Linked DNA regions of Homo sapiens: all the other regions are linked to region 1. The links are contacts of gene promoters, found by promoter capture Hi-C in blood cells and fetal thymus (Javierre and others, 2016). All regions are on one chromosome and are shown on one strand. Each heading gives the region's core, a stretch centred on a gene start or on the middle of the fragment in contact. The rest is flanking DNA. Distances are from core to core; before and after follow the strand shown.

Evidence for each region. Contacts are between HindIII fragments. The CHiCAGO score rates a contact against its expected background, and 5 or more counts as called.
Region 2: a contact is called between a fragment that was not itself captured here and the fragment with the promoter of RAB9B in region 1, in 1 of 17 cell types (total B cells). The highest score is 7.2, in total B cells.
Region 3: a fragment that was not itself captured here is called in contact with the fragment with the promoter of RAB9B in region 1 in 2 of 17 cell types (total B cells and naive B cells); the score reaches 6.6 in total B cells.
Region 4: a fragment that was not itself captured here is called in contact with the fragment with the promoter of RAB9B in region 1 in 1 of 17 cell types (total B cells); the score reaches 5.1 in total B cells.

What each region holds. Positions count from the first base shown.
Region 1 is chrX:103,829,767-103,835,776 of GRCh38, reverse strand. It overlaps RAB9B (RAB9B, member RAS oncogene family), which reads left to right and starts at 3,520. Exons shown (of 3, transcript NM_016370.4): 1 at 3,520-3,717. The HindIII fragment of the contact is 1,396 bases long and covers 2,752-4,147 here.
Region 2 is chrX:103,594,779-103,601,558 of GRCh38, reverse strand. No RefSeq gene overlaps it. Among named protein-coding and RNA genes, the nearest start is that of TCEAL3, 9.8 kb to the left of the region's middle. The HindIII fragment of the contact is 1,266 bases long and covers 3,718-4,983 here.
Region 3 is chrX:103,697,635-103,703,810 of GRCh38, reverse strand. No RefSeq gene overlaps it. Among named protein-coding and RNA genes, the nearest start is that of TMEM31, 10 kb to the left of the region's middle. RefSeq lists enhancers at 5,272-6,022, 6,023-6,176. The HindIII fragment of the contact is 6,329 bases long and covers 699-6,176 here.
Region 4 is chrX:103,629,905-103,636,616 of GRCh38, reverse strand. TCEAL1 (transcription elongation factor A like 1) reads right to left here. Exons shown (of 3, transcript NM_004780.3): 3 at 5,664-6,712. The coding sequence starts at 6,700. The coding sequence ends at 6,221. Among named protein-coding and RNA genes, the nearest start is that of TCEAL1, 4.3 kb to the right of the region's middle. RefSeq lists an enhancer at 6,688-6,712. The HindIII fragment of the contact is 1,877 bases long and covers 4,524-6,400 here.

The sequences.
Region 1 (6,010 bases), core at 2,271-4,770:
TTATTTACCAGTTTTAAAATAATGAGCTAGCTTTCTAGGTTTGGCCAAATTGAGCAATTATGTTTTTAAGTGTTTTTATGAATTTGTATATTTAAACATATTTGATATATTTCAATTCATTGTAGTTATTATCTTTACTGATGCTCAAATTGCCCCGTGTTTGACTGATGACAGCCTCTTCAAGTCCTTTTGACTCAACTCTAATAATGTTTTTAGCTTCCTTGCTATCTGGTGTGACAAGATATTTTATGTTCATCTTGGATATTTCTTGCCACATATCTGAAGTCAGCCATTTATTTAAGTAATCCTGGGTCCTTTTATTGGGAAATAGCATTTAGAACCATCCTATGGGCACTATAGGTGAATTTGGACACTGAGATTTTCATTGTTTCTAAGTATTTTTAGTGGACAGAGCTTAAAAATTTTTTTTAAATGACTAAACTGAGTTCATACTGATGCCTTCCATAATTGGATAATCTTAAGAGATCTTTCCTTCAGGCTATGAAAAATCTGGCAAAGTATTCCTATTCCATAATATTATCCCTGTGTCAAATGATTTTTTAAAAAAATATTGTATCACCAGAAACTGTGACTTGCTCTTGGACAATGATAGGTAAATAGTTCACAAATTCTTACTAATTTCCTATTTACATATCTATGACTGCCATAATTTCTGAATAAAACATTAGATGATCTCATGAGTATTGTTGTAAAAATTAGGACAATAGGACAAAGTATTTGAAATCAGGACTATCTGGAAAATATAACGTGTATAGTTGCCACATAAATATTCTAGGACAAAGATGACAAATACGTTGGCCTATGAATATGTTCAATATTAATGATTAGGACAGTAGTTGCTAAATTGGGTCCTGAGCTGTTCTAGTCCTGCTAATAGATGTTCCATAAACAAAAGAAATTCATGTTCACAAAAGTTTTGGAAATGTAAGATTGAAAAACAACACAACAGATTTCTTTACTTCAGGACTCCAAGAGACGTTAATGTTTTAATATGCAACGTGACTCTTCTGGAAGGGAAATAGTATGCAGTGTTTATACACTTATTTGAATGCTTCACGGAACCCTCTTGTACATAACAACTTGTGACTGCTGGACCAGGCTGTTCTTTTAAATTAATCACATTACAATTATGTCTTCCTGAAGCTCAGGTCAATGTATTTCAAACTGATCAGGATGAGACTTTGGGAGATCTTGTTCATTGAATGTTGAAGAGCGTATGTGTGTGTGTGTGTGTGTGTGTGTGTGTGACTCTGAAGGTAACCCTATCTCTGGTATCCAAACGCAATCTTGGTTTGGCCTTCTATCTACCGACTACACTATGATTCTATTGTGTGTGTGTGTGTGTGTGTGTAACTGTGTTATAAAAATAGAATTTTTATTGTGTGTGAAGGACACTATTTGACAGATCTCAATGATTGACCATTGGGAATAGTCCCATCTGAGAGCCACAAAACCATCCACAGCTGTTACTTTGAATCTTCGTGCTGTCCATTTTTGCTGATCCCTCACAACTAGTGTTAGTCATGTTGCTTCCATTCTAGAAAGATAATAGTAGCTGCTTTTTAAGTGGCCTCTAGAGACTCTTTTAATATAGGATTTACATGTAGGAATCTTTGGTCTAACAAAGGATTTTTCTTACCTTTAGGTGTTCCAACATTCACTAAACGTGTGGTGCTTTCAGCAGTTGTGAGATCCTGACTACAGAACGAGGTAGCTTAGAAACTAAAAGATCCTTAAAACTTGCCAGTTGGTTTGGGGGTTTCTCAGAGATTTTTAAACTGTTGGAAAATGGCATCTATGAGAAAATGAAAAAGTAGTCTAGATTGTTACACCTAAAGACGAGTTACTCTAATATGAAGGACTGTTATTTAAAGCATTTCACAAAACTATTTATTGAGGTGCAAAAAGAAAACATTGGAACATCAATATATTTATTTTTCTCATTCTTTTAAAATTTCTGTGGAGTATTTTAATGTTTACTCATTAAAATGTATGTTTAAAGTAATGTGTAATGTATACATGTACAGTAGTACATGTATATAATCTATAAATCCTTATACATATGTTGGGGCCCATGCTCAATAGTTTTTTAATAGACTAAAATGTATGCGGAAAATTTGATTTAGAGGATTGTGTGAATCTCGTCTTCATCAGAAGAGTGTTTTAGAGTGTATGTGTGGGGAACGGGGTTGGTTTAAATAGGAGCACATGAGATTCAGTTACATCAATTTATTTTATTTAAATATAACAACTATTAGTGATACAGCATTCATTCATATTCAGCAAATATTTTCTGAGCATGTCCTATGCAGCAAGCATTGCCCTAGGCTCTGTGCATACGGTGGTGAACACAAACGTTGTCCTTGACCTCATAGTCCTTCCCCACTATAGTTTAGTAGGGAAGACAGCTGTCAACCAAATAATCATACACTTAAATGTACCACCAAAAATGGGTAAGTGTTATGAAGGAAAAATACAGCAAGTTACAGGAGGCTACAAGAGTATAAACTGGGGCACCATCTCTATTCTGAGATTATCGAGAAAGGTTATCCTGAGAAGTGACATTTAAGCTGGGGCCTGCGGAGATTGATTGCACGATTGCCTTGTCAAGAGACAGAGGAAGAGTGGCCTAGATGGAAGTAGCGGGTATGTGTGAGGGCCTGGACGGGGTCATGAGATGAGTGAGGGCCTGTGCCACAAGGTCACAGGGTTTCGGGCAATGGGGAAGCTTCAGAGATGGAGCTGCCTGACAGAGAGGTGGAGTGCAGGCTAAATGACCTCAGGAGCTTTGTCCTTCTTCAATTCCAGGGGGAAAATCACAAACTAGTTGGAAGTACCAGAGGGCTACAGAAAACAACAAAAAGAGACTAGCTGGTCGGCTAGGCACAATTAAAACATCAAATTCTGCCCCAGCAGCAATTCCGGGAAATTCAAGTAATGCCCCCTGTGTGGCCCTCTAGAACTGTATCTGGTAAGAGTAAAGGGCAGTGTGTCCTCTATGCCTGCGCTACAGATGTGGACATTTTTTTTAATTGCCTGAAAATTTCATAAGCTGTAGCCAGTTAGAGGGCCTAGCAATGTGTTGTGATCATGTGTTTTCCTGAGTTATTTGAAACAAGAGGGTGTATGTACTACCCTCTTGGCAAAATTAAAGGATTTTGAGCTAGGATAAATGAGGTAGATCAGAGGATAATTGCAGGAAGTGGGGCAGTGGCTAGCCCTGCTTGAGGGCTTAGGCCCAGGCTGCAGAGGAGCTAAGTGGAAGAGCAATATTTGACGGTCTATTGCCGCTGTGCCTACTAATCGGCTAGGGGAGGAGAAGGAGGACAAGGGAGACCAGGGTTGGACGATGAGCATGAAAGAAGAGTGGGCGAGCCAGGGAGCGCTTGCCACATGGAGGGCGGGAGGCGGCTACACCGGGTCCCCACCGCCGAGAAAGGGGCACGAGGAGGCGGCGCGGGCCCCGCCCCCTCCCCTGGCGGGCGCGGGCGCGGGCTCGAGACGCTGCGCGGCGGCAGCGGCGGGCGCGAGCGGCAGCTGTCAGGCCACCGAGGTCCAAGCCGCACTTGCTGCCCCATTGAGGACGAGGAGGCAGCAGGAGCAGTGACGGTGACTCTAAGGAGCCGGATTCCCGGCACGCAGAGCTGACCTGCCTGGCACCCGCGGCCCTCTCCTGTTTCCTTCCCATTGTGTTGGGTAAGGTGCCTGTGCGTGGGCAGGAACAGGGGCTAGGGGCTGGAGGACCCGGAAGGCCGGGAGGTGGGGGGCCTGTGAGAAGAGGGAGAAAGGAAAGTCTAGTTGATCCCCAGGACCACTCGTAGCTTGAGAAAAGGGACTGAGCCGCTCCCGAGGTCGGAGTCGGGGGCAGGTGACAGTGCAGGGGGGCGTTGCTGAGTAATCCCGAGCTGCTGCCAGAGCCGAGCAGAGAGGCGCAGGGCTCCGTGGGGAGCGGGTGTGGCTCAGTGCGCATGCGCCACAGCCGACTAGCTCTAAGAGCTGGGGGTGAGGTGAGAGGACCTGGGTCGGAGGTAGTTGGGACTATGTGTGACATCTCACTTTCTAGGTCCGTAATGCTAACAGTGCCCCTGTCGTAGAGATGCCAGCATTCTTGTCTCCCAAGGAAGCTTTTTTTCCTTGTGTTCAGCTCGCTTGATGTCATCCAAACCTTATCTACCTATCTGTCCCTGGGCAGTCTACTGAGGAAGAAGTGTCCTGGGGACGATGCCAGATTGCTATCTAGTGTGCCTTTGGGCTTATAGCCCTAGAGCTGTCGTTGTGAGCAGTGAAAGGTTAGATGTGGGACTCCACATTGGACCCTTTGAGTTGCATATAGGATATAAATGTGGGCATGAATGTAGGAATAGCGTTTCAGTGGCATGACAGCTGTGGCATTTGGAGTCGGCATGGATGTAGCTGATAACTTGTTAGCTCTGCAAAATGAATCCAGTGCGTCAGAGGGTTTCCGCGCTACGAAGCACCCACCACCAGCACCAACGCCAAGTATTGGGTTGTATTGGAAACACACTCAAACATTCAATCATTTCTCATCCGTGTTGAATTTTACATAAATATAGCCGCGCCCAATTCTTCAGTGCAATATTTCCAATTATTGTGCCAGCATTCAACAGTGAGTTGAGTAGCCCTTACCAGTGTGTCGCCACAAGATGGGCTTTCCCCACAGGTCCAACCATGGCTCCTCCCCTGTACAGACTTCCAACAGTGCCACTCTCATCCAGTGCCTAGCCCTCCCCAGTTGCTCTTCCCCTATCGATCCCTGCAGTACACATCCCTTTCAAGACTTGCCTCCGAGCAATCTGCACTACTGATTTTGAGCATCATTCCACTCCATGGCAACTGAACTGATGCGAATTTGCTTTTCTGCCTCTCTTCTCTCCATCATCATACTAAAATGTACTATTTTCAAAGGTTCAACTTCTTTTTCTTCATTGTACTGCCTCCTCCCCCACCTCCACTCCCACCTCTAAGCATTCCCAACTAAATACAATAATTTGAATAAGGCTTTGTGGGTACTGCAGATTCAGAAGGTTTCAAGTGTGTTAAAGAACAAAGAGCTGGGGAGTATTGGTTATGGAAATTCCTAATTCACCTTACTCTCCAAGACTGAGACCCTGATGGGAAAAAAAAAAGTTAGTAAACTATCCTTAGAGCATGCTCATTAATGAGTTTGTGGGGGTAGGAAAGGGGAATTGCGTCTCTCGAATATTTTACTCAGTTAGAGTCAGATCTTTCTCTGAATGGGATCAAAATCAGAATAAGCGTTTTGGTCCAAATGCTCGCCCGACAGAGGACCCATAAGGGATGCATACGTCATTTGACTTTCCTATTTACGTATTTAGTGTTATCAAAGAATTCATTTGCCTGCTTAATGTTACCTTGTTTAAAGGTTTGGATTAAATCCGGCATATTCTGGGGGAGGAAAAAATGATTTCATTTGCTTTTACACTGTGCTAGTTCTTTTTAATTTAAGTATGTACTAAAGGACATGACATTCATTTTCAAACAATGATAAATGATTGTGGAGAGGCCAGCACCCACCGACAACATCAACTGGATATCATTATTCTGCTCTTGTTTTGGGTAGGAATGGGGAAATGTATATACTTATTTTTAAAATGTGAGAGTAGGGGGAGGAAAACTGGAGCATTTCCCTTGACTTTCAACAGGTGGAATTCCCATTACTCCCCATCCAGAAAATGATCGAGTCAAGTTCATAACTTCTGCTCTTTAGTTACCTTATAAATAATAGTATTTTGGCATCTTACAGAACTATGGATCTATTGTACCTTGGCATCAATTCAGAGGCATTAATTCTGGGCACCTACCTAATCATTTAATTGGTAAACAAATATTTATTATCTCCATGGAGGATCCTGGTGCTGCACACTGAAGGGGCTTCAAAGATGTATACAGTGAGCTTACTATCTAGGAATTTAAAATTGATCATGTAAGAAAGACAGGAAAAGTTTGT
Region 2 (6,780 bases), core at 3,101-5,600, 240 kb after region 1:
ATTGCTGAAATACAATATCCACACACAAAGATAACCAGGTGCACGAAAAAAATACGTTATGAGTAACAAATAGAAACAACAGGCAACACAAATAGATCAATATGATTTGAATTATTTGATTTATCAGGTACAGATTATTAAACCACAATACTTACTGTATTCAGATAAAACCTCATCTTGAAGATTTCAATATAAATAAATAAGAAATAAATAAATAAAATTCATATTTAAAATCTTCCAAAATGTTTCCGACCAGGAAAATTTTAGGCCCAGATAACTTCACTAGTGAAGAAAATAATATCCATCCAACACAGTCTTCCAGATAATTAAAAAAGAGAGAATACTCTGCAAGTCATTTTAAGATTTGGTATAACCTTAATATCAAAACCCGACAAGGTCATTATGGGAAAAGAAAAATATAGGTCAATGTAACTCATTGACATAACTGAAAAAAAATTTAAAGAAGAAAGAACCTGACCATATATGAGAATAATAATATACTACATACAAGTTAAGGTATTCCAGAAATGAAAGATTGGTATAATATTTGAAAATCAATTAATGTAATTTACCACATTAAGAGAATAAAGTCTAACAATCATATGATTATTTTAATAGATGAAGAAAAAAGTATTTATAATAGAAGCCCTTATTAAATGGGAAGAGACAGAAAGGGACTTCCTTGATTTGTTAGAATATGTTTATAAAAAACATATAGCAAACATAAAATATAATGATGAGTATAGAAAGCTTTCTCTTTGAAGCTGAAGCTGAGATTAGGAAGCCCCAGATCTTTTTAAAATTTGACTGTAGGTCCCAGGCCAGTGAAAATAAAAAGATGAAGGCAGGAAGGCAAAAGGAAGGAAGGAAGGGAAGAAGAAAGAAAAGGTAGAGAATTGGAAAGGAAGAAATGAAACTGTCATGCACAGACAACATGACTGTAATTTAGGAAATCTAAAAGAGTCCATATATAAAAATTTTGGAATGAATAAATGAGTTCATCAAGTGTTCTGGATATGACAATATACAAAATTCAGTTGCATTTCTTAATCAGCAAAAAAACAGTTACAAAATGGAAGTTTTAAATCCAATACATGATGAATGTTACTGAGATCTTTAAATAAATAAATGGAATATATACCATGGTCATGGGTTGGAAGACTCAGTGTTAGGAAGATGTCAATTCTCTTCTAACTGACCTATAATTACAATGCAATCCTAAACAAAACTCCTCCTTCATTCTCTCCTTCCCTTCTTCCTTCCTTTCATGGCACTTGACAAGCTGATTCTAAAGATTATATACAAACACAAAAAGTCAAGAATAACTTACACATTATTGAAAAAATCCCAATCTGGAGGACTTTGCTCTGTCTACTAAATACCAAAACTTATTATAAAATCTAAATATTGACACGTTATAAAGTCATAGTAGTTTAGTGTGATACTAATCCAAGGATAGCCAAAGAGACCAATGGAATCAAAGAGAGATCCCAGAAACAGACCCATGCATTATGGATTGCTGATTTACAATAAACGTGCATTGTTAAGCACTGGAGGAAAGGATAACTTTTATCAAATGACACTGAATGAACTGCAATATATAATATGGAAAATGTAAATCTTGACCCCTACCTCACATTAAACATGTGATGGGTTAATTTTTTGTGTTAACTTAACTGGGCCACAGAATGCCCAGACATTTGTTCAAATGTTATCCTGGGGTATTTCTGGATGAGATTAACATTTAAATTGGTAGACAGAATAAAACAAATTGCCCTTCCTAACATAGGTGGGCCTCATCCAACCAATTGAAGACCTCAATAGAATACAAAGGCTGAGTAAGAGGGAACTTCTGTCTGATTGTTTGAACTGGGACATTGGTCTTTTCTTGACTTCAAACTTGAACAGAAAAATCAACTGTCCTTGGGTCTTGAGCCTGTCTCGAACTTGCTGACTATAGATCTTGGGACTTCTTAGCCTCCATAATCACATGAGCCAATTCCTTGTAATCTCTCTCTCTCTCTCTCTCTCTCTCTCTCTGTGTATATATATGTGTGTGCGTATATGTATATATATATATATGTGTGTGTGTATATATATATATATATATGTGCTATATATATTTGCTATGGATTGGTTCTGTTTCTCTGAAAAACCCTAATGCAATACACAAAAACTAATTTGTGGTCAATTATACATCTGTCTTCTAGAAAATAATATAGAATATCTTTATAACTATGATGTAGGCACAGACTTTTTAAACTGGACACAGAGTACTTATCATAACTATCATTCCATTGAAATTAAGACATTCCATTAGTCAAATGACACCACAAAGAGAGTAAAAAGACATGCCACAAAGTTGGTGAGCTATTTGCAATACATTTCACTGACAAAGAGCTCAGATGCAGAATATATTTTTAAAATCCTACAAATTAATGTGAAAAAGACACATAAGCCAATAGTAGAATGGGAATAATACAACCACTTCGTAAAAGAGGATATCTAAATTGTCCAAAAAAATGAAAGTGTGCTCAGCTTCATTAGTTATCAGTGAAATGAAAAAGGCAGATAATAACAAGCAATGGTGGTGATGTACAGCACCAAGAACTGTTATCACTACTGATGGAAGTGTAAACTGATACAACCAATTTGGAAGTTTGGCATCATATATTACAGTTGAACATGCAATTCTCCTCATAGATAGCTACCCAACAGAAATTTGTGTACGTGTATACTGAGAGGTATATATAAGAATTTTCATAGCCGCATTATATATAATATTGAAAAGCTGGAAATAACCTAAATTTATATAAAGAACAAAACAATAGCATAAACTGTGATATGTTCAATAATTGTATACTACACATCAATGCAAATAAATTAATTAAATCTAAACATAGAAACATGGATTCATACCATAAACATAACATTTTAGCTCAGGCTGCTATAACAAAATACTATGGCTTATAAAAAGCAAATTTATTTCTCATAGTTCTGGAGGCTGGGAAGTACAGGATCAAGGTGATAGATTCAGTGTCTGGTGAGGGCCCTCTTCCTCACAGATGGCTGTTTTTCACTGTAACCTCACATGGTAGAAGAGTGAGGGAGCTCTCTGGGGTCTCTTTCATAAGGGCACTAATCCCTCCCAGTGGCCCCAACTCCTAATACTATCACCTTGGAAGTTTGGATTTCAACATATAATTTTTTGGGGGAGGGACATAAACATTCAGTTTCATTGTATATAGTATTGAATAAAATATGCCAGCCATAAAAAATACATGCTGTATAGTTCCATTTATATACAGTTCACAAAACAGGCAATATCCTAAACTGTACTGCTTAGGATATAAAATATAAAGAAAAACAAGGAAAGGGTTACCATAAATTTCAGGATTATTATTAGCTCTAGTGGTAAGGAAGGGGGATGACTGAAGGGGACATCAATGGCATTTCTGGACTGCTAACAGTATTCTACTTCTTGACATGAGTGGTGATTACCCAGTTTTTCATTTTGTAATAAATAATTTAGCTCTACATCTTGTGAATGTGTGTGACTCTATATGTGTGCTATCTTTCATGATCAAATGTTAAAATGGCAGAACCACAGGAGAAACAAATTCACAACCATAATGAGAAACTTAATATGTTAAGTTTAAATTGTTATCAGTAACTGATAGAGCAAGCAGATAAAAATTCAGAAATGATAAAGAAGCTTGGAACAATTTGACAAACTTTTCTAAAGGACGTATACAGAACTCTGAACCCAGTAAATGTAGGCATGAAACATTTTTACAAAAATTAATTATTAGGTCATAAAGATGTCACAATAAATACAAAAGGATTGCAGTTATACACATGTTCTCTGACCCTCAATACACCTATACAGAAATCAATAATTAATAACAAAAAGAAAACTAGAAAACTTCCATATTTGGGAATATTTTTGCCCTTTTCTCACATCATTCCTCCTGGCATTTTGTACTAAGAGAATTTGATTTGGTGTTAGAGAATTCAGGCTCTATGAGGGGCATACTTTTTGGCCCAATATAACTAGTGGGGGTCACAAGTGAAAGGAGAGTCATCAAATCTACTGTAAATATGGGATAATTGATATTTGGAGTGGTCAAAAAATGTTTCCAAGATCAAAGAGCTGATAGTAAGTTCCAGTAGTAACTGGAACTCATGACCCCAATAGTCCATGATCTTAAGATACTCTGCTAGACTGCATCTCTCATATCCTGTGAGTTGTATGTGTGGTGATGGGCAGGAGTCAGCTACTTTGTGCTCCATTTTGAAGATAAAAAGACAGCTGGTCCTGGACCCTAAGTCTGTGGACTCTATTCTCAGTAAACTCAATGACTGGCCTGTGTAATTTAAGAAGGCCCTGCTCTCTACATCTCAGAGCTTTTTTCATAACAAATGTCTACTCTCTAGGGGGAAAGATTTTACCAGAGCTCTGTCTCAGAGCTGTGGGGTAACAGTGATTACCTAGCTCCATCACCCTCTACACTTCTTGTGTCATCTAAGGGGAGGATCGACGCTATACAAAAAGAAACACTTGCGAAGGTCACAGGCCAGAGACATAGGTCCACTAAAAGATGGAGATTTAATTGGAAGATTATAGAATACTCCCTATCCCCAATGTCTTATCACTACACCATCAGGGCTCTAGTATAATAGTAAATTACAATGGAAAGAGCTGCAAAAACCAGAGTGTTTCTGTTTGGGAAGCCCAAAGTCAAGAGGGGAGACAAAAACAGGAACACTGAGAAATTTGATGCCTCTAGCACCTATAGCAATAGCAAACATTAATCAAATCACAACTCCTAGCCAGATTAACATAGCTCCTTACACTAGAGGCTTATTTACCTTATTTACCTCAGTTCCTATATACCTGATATAGCATGTCTAGTTTTTAACAAAAAATTACAAGACAGCAAAAGCAAGGGGAAAAAAAGTTCTGAAGAAACAAAGCAAGCTTCAGAACCAGACTCAGATATGATACAGTTTTTGAAATTGTAAGACAAGGAATTTAAAATAACTATGATCAGAATGGGTGTGGTGGCTCATGCCTGTAATTCTAGCACTTTGGAAGGCCAAGGTAGGAGGATTGTTGAGGCCAGGAGTTCAAGACCAGTCTGGGCAACAGAGCAAGACTTCGTCTCTTAAAAAAAAAAAAAAATTAGCTGGGCATGGTGGTGCCTGCCTGTAGTCCTAGCTACTTGGGACGCTGAGGCAGAAGGATTGCTTGAGCCCAGGAGTTTGAGGCTACAGTGAGCTGTGATCATGCCACCACATGCCAGTCTGGGCAGCAGAGCAATATCTTGTCTCTAAAAAAATAAAAATAATAATAAAATAACTATGATCAATACATTAAGGGCACTAATGGAAAAAGTAGACAACATGCCAGAATAGATGGATAATGAAGCTAGAGAGAAGGAAATGCCAATAAAGACTCAAAAGAAAATACTAGAAATTAAAAAGAAAACTAACAGAAACAAGGAATGCCTTTGATAGGTTCATCAATGGACTGGACACAGCTGAGGAAAAAGATCAATGAGCTAAAGATATGTCAGTAGAAACCTCTCAAACTGAAATGCAAATAGAAAAAAAAGACTAAAAAATAAAACAGAAGAGAATATCCAAGAACTATGGGACAATTTCAACACAAGTAACATGTGCTAAATTGGAATACCAGAAGAAGGAATAGAGAATGAAGCAGAAGAAATATTTGAAGTAATAATGGCAGATAACTTTCCAAAATTAATAGACACCAAACAATACATCCAAGAAGTTCAGTGGACAATGGGCAGAATAAATACCAAAAGAAAACACCACTACACCTAGGCATATAATATTCAAACTGCATAAAACCAAAAACAAAGAGGAAATTGCCGAGACCAGCTCAGTCATGGAGACCCTAGCCCAGTGGCGCTAGAGGAATTAAAGACACACACACAGAAATATGGCATGTGGAGTGGGAAATCAGGGTTCTCACAGCCTTCAGAGCTGAGAGCTCCAAACAGAGATTTACCCACATATTTACTGACAGCAAGCCAGTGATAAGCATTGTTCTATAGATTATAGATTTACTAAAAGTATTCCTTACGGGAAACAAAGGGATGGGCAGAAACAAAGGGATGGGCTCTGGCTAGTTCTCTGCAGCAGGAACATATCCTTAAGGCACAGATTGCTCATGCTATTGTTTGTGGCTTAGGAACGCCTTTAAGCGGTTTTCCGCCCTGGGTGGGCTAGGTGTTCCTTGCCCTCATTCCGGTAAACCCACAACCTTCAGCGTGGGCATCATGGCCATCATGAACATGTCACAGTCTTGCAGAGATTTTGTTTATGGCCAGTTTATGGCCAGATTTGGGGGCCTATCCCCAGCAGGAAATAATGAAAGAAACCAGAGGGGAAAAAAACACCTTACCTGTGGAAGAACAAGGATAAGAACTGCAGTGGAATTGTCACCAGAAACCATGCAAGCAAGAAGACAGTGAAGTGAAATATTTAAACTGTTCAAAGAAAAAACAACCAACCTAAAATTCTTTTTTTTTTTTTTTTTTTTTTGAGACAGGGTCTCACCCTGGCTCGGGCTAGAGAGCGGTGGTGCAATCATGGCCCCCTGCAGCCTAGACCTCCTGGGCTCAAGCTATCCTCCCACCTCGGCCTCCTGAGTAGCTGGGACTACAGGCACATGTCACCATGCCAGGCTAATTTTTGTATCTTTTTGTAAAGACAGAGTTTCTACATTTTGCCTAGGCTGGTCTCAAACTG
Region 3 (6,176 bases), core at 2,614-5,113, 130 kb after region 1:
CTTTGACGGCAAGGACTGTGTCTTATACACCTTTTTTTTTTTTGTAGAGACAGGGTCTCACTCTGTTGCCCAGGCCGGTCTTGAACTCCTGAGCTCAAGGGATCCTTCCCCCTTGGCCTTCCAAAGTGCTGGGATTACATGGGTGAGCCACCATGCCTGACAATCATACAACTTTTTAGCTCACATAGCTCCTGGTACCTAGCAACACTCAGTAGGTACATGTAGAATGATAGTGTGACTTCCCATTCGGTTTACTGTATACTACATTCATTCTCTTTCTGTGAACTTATTGGTCACAGAAAAAATAGACCAAAAAGAGATTTTATAAAACCAGATAGAGTTCACACACACACACATGCATGCATACATACCACACACACAAACTGCTCTTTGGGTGTAACAGAACCAAAGCTAAGAAGACAGCAGAACCTTGTAAATTGTATCCCTGAATTAAGAATGACAATGTTCTCAAGCGTACAACTTCCTAAACACACTGCACATGCTCACTTCCCGAGGGTAAGGAGGGCACTGTGCATGCAGGCAGCCCACCCTAAGGGAAGAATCATGGGAAAGGGGCGCAAGACACCGGAGGTGGGCCAGCCTATAAAGTCCTAGGATCATGGTTAAACGGGGCACTTGTTCTTCAAGTCGCCCACTTGGATCTCTTCAAAGTGCACTTTATTTCCTGCTTTAAAGCTTTTTAATAAACTTCCACTCCTGCTCTGAAAAAAAATGATAATGTTCTGATTAAACATTAGTAATATTCCAAATCTGAAGACTAGTATCAAGCTATATTTCAAAAACCAATCACCCGATAAAAGCCCTGGCAGTGACTAGTGAGTACAGTAGCAGGGATTTTGGCCTCTGCATGCTCCACACATTGTTCTCACTGGAAAGCCAGTCATCTCTGAGGGGATAGCAATTAAGCTGGTCTTCTCAGCTCACACTCTTCGCTACATGATGAGACTTCACAACTAGGATAATGCGTACAGTCTATGAACTTGGGCTGGTGGTATCAGAACAGCTTGTTAGGAAATCCTAGAAGGGCATCTGAGCCAGGGGCTTTCTCCCTCACAAAGCATTCTCTTCATGGAAGGATGATGAAGTAAATCTTATGTCAGGGAGCCACCTGAAGAAGTCACATGAGAACTCAGCTATTGTCACTCTGCCTGTGTAGCTCTGTTTTTCTCAGTCTCTGCTTTCACCATGAGGCTTTCTACAAATATCCTGGTTGCACTATACCGTATGGGGCATTACCAAGGAAGTACATGCTCTCACTATCAATTTTATGGAATAGGGAAAATTCTTACCATCATCTAAATTCAAGGAACATTTAGCCTTACAGAGCTGGATCGAGAAAAATGCACACATATTCTTTATTTTAATAGCTTCTATTCATGACAGTGTAGTGATTACTGGTGGCTTTGGTACCAGACAGAGCCTGGGTTTGAATTACAATTCCAGCACTTACTAGATATGGGTTCTTGGACAAATGACTTCACCTCCCTCAGTCTCAGTTTCCTCCTCTAAAGGGACATTTGAAGGCTCTGAAATATCCAGCATGCAGTAACTATGTGGCCTTGAGTAAATCATCAAATTTTTCTGTGCTTCAGCTTTTGCATCTGTTAAATGAAAGCAATAACAATACCTACCTCATAGGGTTGTTGTGGGAATTAAATGAGATAATGCAGTCTGGGCACAGTGGCTCACGCCTGTAATCCCAGCACTTTGAGAGACTGATGCAGGAGAATTGCTTGAGGCTAGGAGTTCAATACCAGCCTGGGGAACATAGAGAGATCCTGTCTCTACAAAAAAAATGTAAAAATTAGCTGGGCATGGTGGTGCACATCTGTAGTCCTAGCTACTTGGGAGGCTGAGGTGGGAGGATTGCTTGAGCCCAGGAGTTTGAGGTTACAGTGAGCTGTGATTGCACCACTGTACTCTAGCCTGAGTGACAGAGCAAGACCCTGACTCAAAAAAAAAAAAAAAAAAAAAAAAAGAGAGAAAGCAAGAGATAATGCAGGTAAAGTGCTTTTTTGTTTGTTTGTTTTGTTTTGTTTTGTTTTTTTGAGAAGGAGTCTCGCTCTGTCGCCCAGGCTGGAGTGCAGTGGCGCGATCTCGGCTCACTACAAGCTCCGCCTCCAGGGTTCGCGCCATTCTCCTGCCTCAGCCTCCTGAGTAGCTGGGACTACAGGCACCTGCCACCACGCCCAGCTATTTTTTTTGTATTTTTAGTAAAGACGGGCTTTCACCGTGTTAGCCAGGATGGTCTCGATCTCCTGACCTCGTGATCCACCTCCTCGGCCTCCCAAAGTGCTGGGATTACAGGCGTGAGCCACCGCGCCCGGCTGGTAAAGTGCTTAAGTCAGTGCTTGGCAAATAGTAAGTGCTCAATTAAAGTTAGCTTTTACATGACCAGACTACATCATCATAATCTCTCTTCAAATTCCATGCTGTGAGTCTCACTTGCTAAGCCCACGCTCACAAAAAGGGTCAAGCTAAAATCACTTCTCTTTATATTTTGTTTCTCAACTGACACTAGGTTCTTCCTGCTGGCATAAAACGTGTTTAAAAACTATACAACCATGGAAAATGGCTTAATCTCTCTTAGCCTCAGCTTTTTCAGGTGCGGGGAAGAAAAGGAAGAAGGAAAAGGAGGAGGGAGAGGGGGAGGAGAAAAAGAAAAAGAGGAAGAAGTGAGTCTTCCATCTAAAAGAAAAAATAAGGAGACAAACTACTCTCCATTGGACCTTGAATTTCTCTCCATTGACCTAATTGACCTATTGCCCTCTTTTTATTCACCACCAAGTTTCTTTTTTCTTTGTTGTTGGTTTTTTTTTTTTTTTTTTTTTTTGAGATGGAGTCTCTCTGTTGCCCAGGCTGGAATGCAGTGGCGTGATCTCAGCTCACTGCAGCCTGTGCCTCCCAGGTTCAAGAGATTCTCCTGCCTCAGCCTCCCAAGTAGCTGGGACTACAGGTGTGTGCCACCATGCCCGGCTAATTTTTGTATTTTTAGTAGAAATGGGGTTTTGCCATGTTGATCAGGCTGGTCTTGAACTCCTGACCTCAAGTGATCTACCTGCCTCTGCCTCCCAAAGTGCTGGGATTACAAGTGTGAGCCACCACACCCGGCCCAAGTTTCTTAAAAGAAATGTCCTTACTAGCCATTTCCACATTGTCACTTCTACCATTTACTTCTTAACACACTGTAATCTATCTTCCGCCTTCTTCCCCCTACCCACCCCTCAAATGCTTTTCCCATATTCCTCATACTACCTTCTTTTTTTTTTTTTTTGAGACGGAGTCTTGCTCTGTTGCCCAGGCTGGAGTGCAGTGGCACGGTCTCGGCTCACTGCAAGCTCCACCTCCTGGGTTCACGCCATTCTCCTGCCTCAGCCTCCTGAGTAGCTGGGACTACAGGCGCCCACCACCACACCTGGCTAATGTTTTGTATTTTTTAGTAGAGACGGGGTTTTTTAGTAGAGACGGGTTTCACCGTATTAGCCTGGATGGTCTCGATCTCCTGACCTTGTGATCCATCCGCCTTGGCCTCCCAAAGTACTGGGATTACAAGCGTGAGCCACCGTGCCCGGCCTCCTCATACTACCTTCTTAATCGCCATGTCAAGTCAACACTTTTCTGCCCTAACCTTCCATGATTTCTCTGTAACATTTGTCAGAGTTGTCACACCTTCTTTGAGATTCTCTTCTCTCATGGACTTCATTCTCTAATTTCTTCTCTTGACCCTCTGCCATACCTTCTTATGTGTTCTTATTCTCCAGGATTTAATCTCCTGATTTCACTTCTCCTCACCACACGCCTACTGCTTGGCTGTTCTTGACTGTTTCCATGGTTGTGATAACCTATGTGCTGATGATTCTTACATTTCTGACTTCATCCCATGGGTACCTCAAGAGCCAAAAAATGGCCGGGCGTGGTGGCTCACGCCTGTAATCCCAGCACTTTGGGAGGCCGAGGTAGGCGGATCACCTGAGGTCAGGAGTTCTAGACCAGCCCGGCCAACATGGTAAAACCCCGTCTCTACTTAAAATACAAAAATTAGCCAGGCGTGGTGGCAGGCGCCTGTAACAGCTACTCAGGGGGCTGAGGCAGGAGAATCACTTGAACCCGGGAGGCGGAGGTTGCAGTGAGCGGAGATCGCTCCATCATACTCCAGCCTGGGGAACAAGATCGCAACTTCGTCTCAAAAAAAAAAAAAAAAAAAAAAGCCAAAAAACTCACAACCTCCTTCAAACTTTCTCTGCCACTCTGTCCTTCAACTTTCCTAATCTTGATGAATCATCTAAGCCAGAAACTTGGGAGTCGTCCTTGAAAACTAGTTCTTCCACAGCCCTCAGATAAAATCAATTACCAAGTCCTGCTGTGTTTACCGTTCAAATATTTCTGAAACTCCTGCCTCCTTCTCTATACTCCCTGACTTCATCTTGGTTCAATCTTTGACTCCAGTGTGGTTTCCTATCCTCCACACTATTGCCAATTTGGCCTTTCTAAAACTGTCTATTTATGACACTTCCTTGCTTTGAATCCTTCAACGGCTCCCTATTGCCTCAGGAAAAAGCCCAAGTGGCTTAAGTTGGCCTACCAGAAATTTTCTTCTCTGGCTCCTGCCAGTGACTCCAGCCTCTTCTCTCATCACTCCCCTCACTCCACTAAATGCATCCTTAATTTGGCCTTGCTGATCCACCCACAGATCCCTGAACCCAGCAAGCCGGATCCTGTCTAATGCTCTGTGCCTTTGCACATGCTGTTCCTTAGCCTTTCAACGCCTTCCCTTGACCACCTGAGGTATTCTATTCATCTGTCAAGGCTCTCGCCAGATATCATGTTTTCTGTGAGGCATTCTCAAACTGCTATGACCCTAACATCCAGATAGATTTAGGTTATCTGATAATGCCCTGTACATAGCTCTATATTTGTACTTGTAAGATTAGATACTGTTCTTTTGTCTATTTCCCTCACAGATAAATGAGTTTGAGGTCAGGGATTATAAGGTATTTATCTTTGTATTCCTCATACCAAGCTCATAGCAAGAAATGAATTAGTGTTTACTATATAAGTTTTTAAAAGTCATGAGTACTGTAGTTCAAAAAAATTTTTAACCACCCAATTGCTGTGCTAGTTCTCACTAACTATACTTTCTTTGCAAGGGTCGTGTCATGAAGTACTACACTATCAAGGTAACAAGTATCTTTGTGGTTTTTTTTTCCCCCCTTTTCAAAGCTCTTAAGTGCCATGTCATCCTCAAAGCAAACTTGAGGTAAGATAACCAGGTATCCATGTAACAGGTGAGGAAATGAGGCTGAGAGACCTTAAGGGACTTACCCAAAGTTACCTATTTCTCAGTACAGTACAATAATTTATCTATTTGGCAAAGGATTTTCAAAGTCATTTTCAAGGAGTCCTAGGGTTTCATGGGAAGGGAAGGAAGGACAGGCAGCCATACCCATCCCCCACACATATATACAGACGTTTCAATCTGCATAACTCCACTCTCAGTTTATATACTTGCTTTACCATAATATTTTCTTTGGAGTGAGGAGAGAGGATGAGAAGAGTTTACTGCTTCTTTAAAAAATTTGAAAATCAAAACTGCATCATCTATAACTTTCAATTTAAGCCATTTAACAGGTCAAGGGATGTTTCAGCTGTATTATTTGGCAATATTATAGAAAGATCATTTTTTGAGAATAGGCTAAAGTCAAGGGCTATGATGACAAAGGAATCTAACAATTGGGCATCTTTCTGACTCTAAGCCCCTCTTCAAGTTATCAACCTACAGAAGTCCTGAATACTTGTCACCCTACCTCCCCTTTTACTTACTAACAATGCCTGGCTAATGACCTCAGTCTTATCAGTCCTCAGTTTAATGCTAATCCTTAACTACTTCAGACAATGAGAATCATTGTTACAAAGACAGCCCTGACCATCAGAAGGGCAAGAATGCTTAAGACAATTGGCCACAGCAACACATTTGCTATCCTGACTGCATTTAACTCTCACCAATATGCCCATGCAGAGAAATAAACAGTTGGCTCTTTTAGAAAACAAATGTCTCATGGGATTTCCCATAAGACAACTGGCTCAACAGATAACAATGTCTTAGAATTTTAGAAACTGGCGGCTGAGCACAGTGGCTCACGCCTGTAATCCCAGCA
Region 4 (6,712 bases), core at 4,213-6,712, 200 kb after region 1:
CATTTTAAATTTCTTTCCTCAACTCCAAACAAAGCCAGTGATCTTTCCCTTGCCTTATGCTTTTTGGGGAGCCCATCCATACATGTGGCCCTCAGACATAGGTCCCTGAGACCAAAGAGCACAATTTTATTTTCATCATTGACATCACCATCAAGAAGTGTGGTTGATGGAATACTCATACAGATGAATGTCATGGCACATATGTAAATAAAAGTAAGAGAATAAAGAAAATAGGCTGGGCGCAGTGGCTCACGCCTGTAATCCCAACACTTTGGGAGGCCAAGGTGGGTGGAAAACGAGGTCAGGAGATCAAGACCATCCTGGCTAACACAGTGAAACCCCATCTCTACTAAAAATACAAAAGAAAAAGAAAATTAGCCAGGCATGGTGGCATGCCTCTGTAGTCCCAGCTACTTGGGAGGCTGAGGCAGGAGAATCGCTTGCACCCAGGAGGTGGAGGTCGCAGTGAGCCGAGATCGTGCCACTGTACTCCAGCCTGGGTGACAGAGCAAAAAAAAAAAAAAAAAAAAAAAAAAGAAAAGAAAACATATGCTCTGTAAGATATAATTACATATATAAAAATGAATACATAAAGGCATTTAAATGTATTATATATGTAATATAATATATATGTTTACTTTATAACAAAGTAAATGGATAGAATACATAAAAGGAGATATACACACACAATGTAAGTACATGCTCCTCAATATTGGGAACTGTAGGCATCTTCTTCTTACACTTTTCTGCATTTCCATATATTTTCTAGTAGAAATATATAACTTCTACAATCAGAGAAAAAGTGAAAATAGTATAAGACAATTCAGCTTAAACACACATACATATGCACACATAGATGCACACGCTTATCTTGACTTGAGACAAGGAAAAACCACCTAACTATATGTTGCTTCTTGGGCCACCTCAATCCCCAAGAAGAGCCTGATACTTGTGTGGTTCCAGTGTGAGTCAGGGTTGAGACATTCCCTTCCCAAATATCAAGCCTCTCCACCAGCTCTCCTCTCATAGTTTCTCTCCTCCCTGCTCTCCTTTGTTAGCCATGTTTGACCCACAATCCTGACTCTGATCACCGGGTGGCACTTACCTCAATATGTAAACATTCTCCTGAAACAGGTATTATCTTGGTAAAAAGAAAGTTTAAAGAAAAAGTTTATTTTTTTTACACACAGGATATGAACCAGTGTGTTCAGTAGAATCCCACTTCTGTTTGAAAAATACATATTCATAGAAAAGGATAGAAGAGTATACAATTGCATTCTTCATTCATTCATTTAATTCAACAAATACTCCTGGGCCACTTGCTATGTTCCTGGTATCATAAGCCAAAATTGATATTTCCATTCTAATCTCTTTTCCAAACTTCAAACACATATCTAACTGCCTACTAGACATTTCTACCTGGATTGAGATAAAAATGAGAAAACTCACTCAAATCCACAAACCAACAAGAATACCATACTCAGCAAGTCTAAATCAATGATGCCCTAAGCCCTGAAAAGCTACTATCTAAATTGGTGGCCGTGTGGTAGAGTGGGAAGAACACAGAATTTGATGCAAACAAATCTGAGTTAGAACACAGGATTTGCCTCCTATTTATCTGCAAAATATTATCCTTCATTTGTAAAAATAATTATTTGTTTAGATTAGTGTTTCGTAATGGGGGAAGGAGTTGTCTCTGGTCCTTTTCTAGGGACCCTGAGCCTGATCCCATCTATGCTGCTTCACCACTCCTGGGAGTTTGCAGTCGTATGCATTGTTTCCTAAGAGCAGGGGGACCCTGGTTAGCAGAGGGCTCTCTCTCCATGGTCCTGGACCCTCAATGCTTTCTGCTCCGGAGTTGGCCAGGCAAGTTGCTGTTTGGACATGTGATAGAGATACCAGCCTTCTGTGTGGACAGGAAGGTGGGGAGAGGCTGTCTTAGTCCATTTTCTGCTGTTATAACAGAATACCTGAGACTGGATAACTTTTTTTTTTTTTTTTTTTTTTTGAGACAGGGTCTCTGTTGCTCAGGCTGGAGTACAGTGGCACCGTCATGGCTCACTGCAGCCTCGACTTCCTGGGCTCAAGCAATCTTCCCACTTCAGCCTCCCAAGTGAGTGGGACTACAGGCACACTCCACCATGCCCAGCTTTTTTTTTTCCTATTTTTTGTAGAGATGGCATCTCACTATGTTGCCTAGGCTGGTATTGAACTCCTGGGCTCAAGCGATCCTTCTGCCTTGGCCTCCTAAAGTGTTGGGATTACAGGCATGAGCCACCGTGCCCAGCTCTAGGATAATTGATAAAGAATAGAAACTTATTATCTTACAGTTTTGGAGGCTGGGAAGTCCAAGATCAAGGCACTGGCATCTGGGATGGGCCTTCCTATTGCATTCTTACACGCAGGAAGGCAGAAGGCAAGAAAGAGGAACTCTGTGTTTTCATGAGGCAGAAGAATGGGAGAGAACCCACTCCTGCAAGCCCTTTTTATGATGGCATTAATCCATTCATGAGAGTACAGCCCTCATGACCTAAAAACCTCCCATTAAGCCCCATATCCCACATCCCCTGTTGCATTGAGGATTAAGTTTCCAGCATATGAATTGTGGGAAACACGTTCAATCATAGCAGAGGCCCAGGGGCTCTGGATGCTGCTGACCCTCCACCACCAATGCCTTAAAAAGCATCTTCACACCAATTCACAGCTTGACTGTCCTGGCTCCCAAGTCGTGAGCTGGGCCTGCAGTGCATGAGGGTTTTCAGATAGGAGGCAACACCACTTTTCTCCTGAGTTGTAGGACCACATGTCTTTGCAAGTTCCCTTTATCTGGGGTCTCCTCTAGTTCAGGGTCTGTGCTGACTCAGACATCAAATATAGTGCACCAGGCAGACACAGAGCTAAAGTCTTTGCAGAACCAACCAAACAGGCCAGGGCACATCAAGGCCCTTCTGGGACTCTGAGCAAGGTGGGTGGGAGAGGGATGGGTGAGGTTTTGTGTGCTGTCTTAATTCTATGTTTGCCCCAGTCTTCTTGGGGGCTACTTCACTGGACTCTGAGAGACGGGTCAGCCCCTTCTGCTTCAACCCCAAGTTACCTGGTCAGATCTGTACAGACATCTGCTTGCTCAAAGACTATCCCAATGAATGTTTCCTGTCAGGACACTTTGGGGCTTTATCTCCTCCCCTACAAAATGTTCCCTAAAAGAGAGAGGGAAAAGGAGGGAAAGGCAAAGTGCTCTGACCTGCAATAGGGCAGTCAGTTCTCCTCCTCCAGGTGTGTCTGTGCAGGGCAGCTTGGCCATTAGCCTAAGAGGGCCCTGTGCCTGCTGTAGGCTGGAGCAGAGAAACAAAAGTCAGACCCACCCCAGAGGGGAATGTGGCCTGAGTGAGCCCTTCCACCTCCTGCCTAAGCACCACCACTCTTAGCGTTAGGGGGATGGATTTATCCTCTCTTATAAAACTAATTCCAGTGAGCCTGGAACCTGATCTCACTCCAGCCAGAATTCCAGTTTTACCAGCACCCATCAGGCTGTCATTGGCCTTGAAGAGTGTTCTGGAGACATGAAGACCTCCTCCAAATGGCATTGTATGGTAAAAATATAAAAACAAAAGAAAGCCAAGGGTACAGGGCTGGCTCAACCGTTTTTTTGAGATCATTACTAAAGGAGAACTTTGAATTTACTTCTGATGCATTTTACTCATATTGAAAGTATGGAATGTAAGGTATTATATAACATCAGTCATGGAAAATACATTTCTATTAAGTTGTCTCTTAGGTTTTAATTTTGTGTAAGGTCTTGCTTTGCTGTAAGAAATCTAAATTTTATGTTATAAAATTTGTATGACTATCTTTAGTTGCTTACTTAAAAATATGCTTGGATGAGGCTTTCACCCTTTTAATTCTGACACAATTATCTGTATTTTCTTCCATTTACATCATAGTTTATTCTCAATAAAATCAGAAGTATACCATATATGCCAGTGGCTGTCCAACTTTTAGTGTGCTAATTTATGAAAAAGCAGATTTACTGGGTCTGGCGTAGAAAACGGGTTTCTGCATTTTTTATAAGGGAAACACTGATATATAAAATATTTAAATAATTTTAATGTTGAATTTCAGTTAACAATCCCTCCTTCACCACGTTCCTTTTGGAATTGCAAATCATAGCTCTAGAGAAGTCAACACAGTAAAGCTTATATAGTCAATCAAAGAGAATCTCAGAATTCATGACTGGGTCATGATTTTTAATCATTATTAACCACTCTGTATCTCTAGCACTAACAGAATCAATAAAACAAAATCTTAGGATTTATAAAGGTAGCTTAGTAGAGAAATCATATCTAATATATATGTTTATGTACATATACATATATAGTACTTTAATGTTGTAGAAAGTAGTTTTGCATGTGTCTTGCTGATATGGAGCAGTGTAGAAGGGGGAATGTCTTAGTTTGAGCCTAAGCATTATCTTCCTCTTTAATTTATACAAGTTGAGCAAGTCAGCTGAATTGGCAAGGCAAGCTTGCCAGAAGCCCCTGAGAGAGAACTCATCTTAAGGCAAGTTAGACAATTAAAATGATAGTTATCCTTGGATATTTGGGAGGGAAGTTCCAATTCTGAGTACACAGCATGGTGTCTGGCTCAATAATTTTGTCTCCTAGCCCAGGACCTAGTGGAATCATGTTTGAGTCAGGTGGAGAAAAGGTGGAATCATGTTTGAGTCCAGTGGAGAAAAGGAAGGTCCTAAATGGAAAAAAAAAAAAAATGGAAGAACTATTTTACTAAGCATTTTTTTTTTTTTTGAGACGGAGTCTTGCTGTCTCCCAGGCTGGAATGCAGTGGCGCGATCTTGGCTCACTGCAAGCTCTGTCCCCCGGGTTCAAGCCATTCTCCTGCCTCAGCCTCCCGAGTGGCTGGGACTACAGGCGCCCGCCACCACACCCGGTTAATTTTTTTTTTGTATTTTTAGTAGGGATGGGGTCTCACCGTGTTCCCCAGGATGGTCTCGATCTCCTGACCTCGTGATCTGCCTGCCTCGGCCTCCCAAAATGCTAGATTACAGGCGTGAGCCACCGCGCCTGGCCTTACTAAGCATTTTTTAAAGACATTGAGGTCTAAGCAGCATTGAGATGGTAGCCTCCTAGCTAAGTGCAATATTAAAGCTGGAAGAAGGGCATTCATATATCTGCAGGAGACACAATTCAGCTTGGGCCCACCAGGGACTCCAGAGCAATCAGTGAGGCTTTGTACCTTAAGCAGTCCAGCACGTCAGCAGGGATGAGAGCCAGTGGAAGGATCAGGACCCAGGAGAAGGAGCAGCTGTGCCTAGCAGATACGGTAGGTATCTGAGAGTACAGCAGGACATGAATAGAATGTGGCACTCACTTGGAATCTCACCGGAATTGTTTGTGAGCACAAGTGAGATCTCCTTTGGGTACCTTCCCTATGTCTGCAGGGAATCTATAGGGGTTGGGGTCCTGCCTGTGCAGGTGGAATAAAGACCCCGAACATAGCTCACACAACCTTTTTCTCATCTGGTCCCACAGTAGCACTGTAAAGCAAGTATTATTCCTATTTAAATGAGAACAAAATGACTATTAAATATAATCCATATCTGGCTAATATTTGTGCCTAAGAGATTCAGAAAAAAACATAGGATTCACTTTTTTTAAAGTTCTGACAAGTATTTATTAAGTGCCACATTGTCGTTATAAGCTGATTGACAGTTTTCTTCAAAATTGTGTGATTTTTTCATTATATATTTTTGCAACACAAGTAAAACGTTTGTCCTGAAAAAATGAGAAATTCAGATAAAACAAAAATTTAAAAAATCACCTATTATCTTACCACACAACCACTGTTATGCCTTTGAAGTCTATACTTTTAGCTTTTTCTTTGCATATTAATATATAAATATACATTTTTTTTACAAAAATGGGATACAATATATACCATTTGAAAATTGCTTTTTTCGTTTCACAATATATAATGTACATCTTTCATGCAAATGTGTAGGGCTCATGACTGAAAGAGGGAAACTTGTAGATTTTAGGGGGAAACCTCAACTTTAAGCGAGTTACATGCTAAACATCTAAAATAAAGCCTCACAAAAAGTTAAAATTCAGAATATGGGAAAAGGCATTAAGAAAATGCAAACAGAAAGTCCAGGTGGCAATGGCAATACTATTAGCAGGCAAAACAGAATTAAAGGCCGAACACATTAAATAGGATAAGGACGGCTCCGTTTTGCCTTCCAGTGCATTATCATCAGTTTGTTTCTTACTCTTTTCATCTCTTCTAGCTCATCTGCTGCCTGTATCATCTCCTCATTGCTTAAATTTCTGCCATGTATGTCCCCTCTAAATTGCGGGCGAGAACGAGCCAACCTTTCTTTAAAGCTTCCTTCTTCAAGCTTATGTTTTCCTACTCCACAAGGAGGCTGCTCCATGGGAGGGCGCCCCTCAAACAGGTCCTTCCTGGAAAGACCCTCCTGCGGAGGGCGCTCCTCCGAGAGGAGCATCTCAGGCAGGAGCTCAGGCAAGAGCTCCTCAGGAAAGAACTCCTCCTCCGAGGACTGCTCCTCCGAAGACTGCTCCTCGGGGGACTGCTTTTCGGGAGAGTGCTCCACCGGAGGCCTCTCCTCATCGGTCTTGGGCGCGCTCTGCGGCTCTTCTTCATTTTCTTTGCGTGGTTTGTCCATGTTGGGAATTTT